Regions from separate parts of the Homo sapiens genome. Here region 2 is linked to region 1. The links are contacts of gene promoters, found by promoter capture Hi-C in blood cells and fetal thymus (Javierre and others, 2016). All regions are on one chromosome and are shown on one strand. Each heading gives the region's core, a stretch centred on a gene start or on the middle of the fragment in contact. The rest is flanking DNA. Distances are from core to core; before and after follow the strand shown.

Region 1 (2,707 bases), core at 128-2,627:
CTAATTCAAAATATTCTAGTTCACACACAGAAGCAAAAACAATTACACAATATACAAGATATTGATCAAATGAAGTGAAGCTTTGACCCAATCAAAACTTCCTAACTCCACTTGTATCCATGTCGATCTCCTTTTATATCCGTTCAGTTCCACTGTCCTAAGTAGCCAATGTCTGAATAATTTTCAGCATTACCAGTCGAGCCCCTCCAAAAGTGGGTTTGCCATTTGCGAATTTAGCTTTGGCCCTCACTGCAGAGCGTGAAAACCAAAGGAAGAGGATGGTTTGAAGAGCAATTTCTTTTCACGAATAAACAACTAGTCCCATGAGTAAGGGAGTCAATTTGGAGTGCCAGGTCTAAAGGAAGAAGAAACTGTATTGCCTCCTTGTACATTTTGGGAATTTAGGGCCTGGACAAACGATAGCTAGTGAACTGAACGGGCAGGATAGTCAATCAGAGTAGAAGCAGCAGTTACAGGTCTAAAAAGCGTGCCAGCTCTACCCCACAGGCCCCCGAAAACCCTTCTACTCCGCCCAGCCTCCACCTCGCGCTTCTCACCTGCCTGTCGCCCGGTCTCGCTCGGGCTTCGCGAAGGGGCTGCGGATCCTACCCTCGTCACTGGAGTGGCCCGGACCGACGCCTGCACGTGAGGAGCCCGGGGTCCCAGGCCCGCGACTGGAGCAGGGGTGCTGATGCCGGCAGCTGTCCGCGGGTCAGGCCCCGCGGCCCCGGGGCTCAGGAAGTAGAAGGGGTTGTAATAGCCCAGCTGCGGGGGCGGCGGCGCCGCGGCCTGGGGGACTGCAGCGCCGCCCGAAGGGAAGCTCTGCGGGGAGGGCTGGGGGCTGCAGTAGGCTGGGAAGGCGGCCAGGCCGCTGTGCCAGGTGAGGTAGCCGCAGTAGGACTGCCACAGCCACTCGTGCACTTGCCGGGAGTACTCGCGGGCGCTCAGCCGAGCTGGTCTCTCTCGTGGCGCCGCGGCTTCGGGCGCCTCGCAGCCCGCCTGCTCCTGCAGCTCTGCACCGGAGCCGGAGGCCGCCTCCCCGCGCTTCCTGAGCTCGCGCGGCGGCTCCAATTTGTCGGCTGCGGCGGCAGCCGCGAGGCCCGGGGCTGTGGGCCGGCCCGGGGCCTGGGGTTCGGCCTGGGGGTCGTCGCGGGGGCATGGGACGGCGGTGGTAGGAGGGCCTCTCAGGGAAGGGACGGGCTCGTGGTCCCCTCCGCCATCGTCCTGCCCGGGAGGGTGGCCTCGGGCTTCCTCGGGCCCCTCGGCCATCGTCGCCTCAGCAGCACCCTCTGGGATACCTGTCACTGCTCCGTTTCCCTCCCCCAATGGCCCCTCCCCAACAGCCCCGTCACCACCGCAGCAACCGCAGGCGTCAACAATCCCCCGCCGGAAGCGGAAGCCCCGCCCCTCAGGAGCAACGCCCGCCGCCAGGCGGAGCTGGGAAGGGAGGGCGGGGAGGTGCGTCTGCAGTCCCGGGTTCGGGCCCTAGTAGTCGGTGGCTGGTCGGTGACTGGGACCAGACCGTCGCCTCCTCCCTTTTACAGCTTTAAGTCTGTGACCCGAGGCCTCTCTGTATATTCCCGTGGGGTTGGGCCTAGTTGTCCTGGGAGAAACTAGATGGATGAGGAGTATTTCCGAGACAGGTCCCAGGGCCAGCGCAGCCTTTTCTGTTGCAGAACCGCGACTGTTGTTTTGGGATCCAGGCCGGAGGGTTTGTTGCTTGTGTTCATTCCAGTTAACCATTAGTACTCGAGAAGGTGGTACAGAACGCATCTATCCCCTTAGAAGAAAAGAAATTAAAAGCCAAACTAAACTGGGATATATATTAATATAGGAAACTACCACTGAGACATAGGAAAGTGTATTAAAATATAACTAGTGAGGTGCTATGTATAATTCAGAGGAAGGGGAAATTATGCATGGGCCAGACTACTAACAAAAGGCTCCAAAGCCTGGGATACGCTGAGGGCCTTTCCATAACAGAAAATGAAAAGGAACCTAAATTTGAGACTAGATTTGAGGAAAGGCACAGTTGCGCTGGAGTAGAAAGCGTCTGTCTACCGCAGTGGAAAGTAAGTTTTCGTAAATGCAGACTAGCTCCAGGGTGAGGACAGAATCTAGCTTTTAAATCAGTATAATCTCTCTTCTTTTACATTTGAAAATCTCTGCAGCGATATGTTATTGTATCCCCAGCACCATACAAAGGACATACAAGGGCCAAATACTGTGGGAATATTTATTAATGATATTAATGATGATGCTGTCCGGGCCAAAGGAAAACTTCCGCTTCACCTTCTGAAGTTTCGCTGAAAGTCACTGACAGGAGGCAGTTAATAGGAGAAAAGACATAGACATTGATTTGACCATCGTTTTATGTGACACGGGAGCCTTCAGAATGAAGACCCAAAGATAACAAGGGAAATCGTGTATTTGTATGCTTAGGTTCAACAAAGCATGGACAGCCGTATAAAAAAATGACTGGACAAGGCCGGGCGCGGTGGCTCACGCCTGTAATCTCAGCACTTTGGGAGGCTGAGGCGGGCGGATCACAAGGTCAGGAGATCGAGACCATCCTGGCTAACACAGTGAAACCCCGTCTCTACTAAAAATACTAAAAATTAGCCAGGCGTGGTGGCGGGCGCCTGTAGTCCCAGCTACTCAGGAGGCTGAGGCAGGAGAATGGCGTGAACCCGGGAGGCGGAGCTTG
Region 2 (2,707 bases), core at 115-2,614, 1.5 Mb after region 1:
TGTTACAATTCCTGATCTAAACTGGAAAAACAAAGTTCCACGGCTCCAATGATACCAAACCACGAGCTCTAGTATGGAGGCTCATAATTCCTTTTAACGTCTAGGGCATGACCAATTGCAATAGAGAAAAAAGGAGTCCTCAAAAGTAGCCTTCCAAAAGATGAGGAGGGGAAACTACAGGGTATTTTCCTTCGTATTCCAATCACCGGAATTCCCTCCACCAGCATACTCTGCACAGCTGATTTTTGGCGACTTATTATCTGGGCAATTTTAACCATTTGGACTCCAAAAATCAAACACATTGAGGGAACACGCCACAAGTGTCAGCTAAGCTTCACAAGCGGTTTTCCAAACATCTCAGAGCTAGAGGGGTTGAGGGCACAGCGTTTTCCTGGGATCACATGTGCTGTCTGCCATACCACCTCTGCACTATTTGGCACCGATCTCCCTCACTGTTAAGGAAACACATGCTTAAAAACAACCGAGCAGTAGATGACCCAAACCTATTCCTCCCGTCCCCCGCAAACCCGGAGATGCAGGTGAACGGTGCATTTGAGAGCAGCAGCCTGAGAAGCAGCGTGAGACAAGGGCCCGGCTTGTCTGCCAAGAACCCCTGGGGCCCGAGACTGCTTCGAGCCACTCCATCCCATCCTGGCACGCGGGTGGCACTGCCAGGCGCCGCGGGGACCCGACAGGCGGCATCACGCACATACCTGCGGCAGGTGTGCGGAGCCGCCTTCTTCCGGGAAAGTGCTGGGTTGGGGGGATGATGGGGCGCTGGGGGGTGGATCCCGGCTGCGGGCTGCGCCCGGCCCTCAGCGCTGGGGACCCCCGCTGCGCGCTTTCTCCGCGCACCCCACGCGCGCCAGGAGGAGACCGCGCGCCCCACGCCCGTGGAGAGGAGGGGACGCGCTCCCCCCGGCTGCCGCCGCAGTGCCTCCCGGCCCCTAGTAGGGGGCGCGCCAGAGTGCCAGGCGTCGCTGCGAGGCCCCTCGGCCTCGCGGGACCCGCCGGGGCCCCTTCTTGCCCCTCGCCCTCACCTGGTTGAGGCAGTCCTCGCCGTTGGCTTTCGCCTCCACCTCCACCTCCATCAGCACCGCGTCCGGCCTCGTCACATAACACAGCATGGCTGGGGCTGCCGCTGCCGCCACAGCCGCCTTCTCTTTGGTGTGCGCGGGGCTGCCGCCTTGTCACTGGTGGGACCCAGCCCCGGACTCGGAGAGGGCTGGCCCTCGAAGGCTGCAGCTCTGCGGACCCTTGTCCGGGGCCCCGCGGCCGCCACTCGCGTCCCCGCCACCCCCTCACCCGCTGCCCGCCAGCTGCCCCTGTCCTCCGCGGTGGCGCCGCACTCCAGCAGCCCAACTGCCTGCGCTGCGACAGGGACTCTGCTGATATAGCGGCCCCGCCCCCTTCAGCTCGGGTCCCCGCCAATCACGGCCTCCCTGCCCCTCCTCCCCCGCCCGATCAGCCAATAGCGGCGCCCCTCGACCGCGGCCCCCGCCTCCCAGAGCCGGCTGAGTTTCCCTGGCCGCCCCGGGAGGTGGCAGCTTGCGGGCGCCGAGTGCTGCGGGAAGGGAGGGAGACCCCGGAACACACCAGCCGCCTCTGTCCGCTGGGCGACGCTGCTCAGAGTGAGCGATCGCCCGGGGCTCCAGGCGGGGACGCCTTTCTGCCGTCTCGAATTTACGGTGATTAAACACCTCCAAGCTGCCACTGTTCTTCAAATATCTTGGATCACTCTGAGCACGCATTTCGGTTGTGAAAGCAAAAAGGAAAAGGAGCAACCCAAAGCCTAAAGAAAACTGTTCTCGTCCGGGCATGGTGGCTCACGCCTGTAATCCCAGCACTTTGGGAGGCCGAGATGGGTGGATCACCTGAGGTCAGATTCGAGACCAGCCTGGCAAACATGGTGAAACCCCCGTCTCTACTAAAAATACAAAAAAAAAAACAAAATAGCCAGGCGTGGTGGCGGGCACCTGTAATCCCAGCTACCTGGGAGGCTGAGGCAGGAGAATCGCTTGAACCCAGGAGGCGGAGGTTGCAGTGAGCTGAGATTGTGTCACTGCACTGTAGCTTGGGCAAGAAGAGCAAAAAACCCTGTCTCAAAAAAAAAAAAAAAAAAAAAAAAAAAAAGAAAAGAAAAAGAAAAAAGAAAAAAAAAAGAGAAAAAGAAAACTCTTTTCCACCAGGATTAGCCACAGTGGGTTGCTTGGAGGCAGAATTGTTGTTCCTTATTAAGACCTCATCATTGAGAAAAACAAAATCTGAGTATGAAAGTTTTTGCAGCTGACCAGTGAGCCAGGTGTCTTGGTCTAGTGCTGGTGTGTTACACTCCGGAAGGGCTTCTCCTTACTCGTTCTGCTGAATCAAAACGCCTTACAGGGTACCAGGCCCTCTCTCAGGTTGCTCATTCTACCTCCTGTCTTATCTCACTCATTCATTAAACATTTGTGCAGCACCTGATACCCTGCCTGTCCCTTCTCACAGGCAACCAGATGTTGTCCTCGTCTTAAGGTAAGGTGCTCATCTCCTGACCTAACAGGTGGCATTACTGCAATATTAGCTATTAAAGGTCTACAACCCTTCACTCATTTACCGCTTGTTCCTCTTTGCCAATATATTACATAGCCTACCTTTTTGATTTCTTTATAGGAGCCAGATGATGTGGGTTTCAGCCGTGGAAACTTAGCAAACTTACTTCAGGCCA

What was found. The method cuts DNA at HindIII sites, captures the fragments that hold promoters and counts their contacts. A CHiCAGO score of 5 or more calls a contact.
Region 2: the fragment with the promoter of MYLIP here is called in contact with the fragment with the promoter of FAM8A1 in region 1 in 1 of 17 cell types (non-activated CD4 T cells); the score reaches 5.2 in non-activated CD4 T cells.

Annotation. Positions count from the first base shown.
Region 1 is chr6:17,598,972-17,601,678 of GRCh38, reverse strand. FAM8A1 (family with sequence similarity 8 member A1) reads right to left here and starts at 1,377. Exons shown (of 5, transcript NM_016255.3): 1 at 558-1,377. The coding sequence starts at 1,269. LOC102724591 (a long non-coding RNA gene) reads left to right here and starts at 2,703. Exons shown (of 5, transcript XR_007059485.1): 1 at 2,703-2,707. RefSeq lists a silencer at 1,039-1,518. The HindIII fragment of the contact is 5,181 bases long and covers 83-2,707 here.
Region 2 is chr6:16,127,743-16,130,449 of GRCh38, reverse strand. MYLIP (myosin regulatory light chain interacting protein) reads right to left here and starts at 1,364. Exons shown (of 7, transcript NM_013262.4): 1 at 1,041-1,364. The coding sequence starts at 1,127. RefSeq lists a silencer at 683-1,682. The HindIII fragment of the contact is 2,730 bases long and covers 335-2,707 here.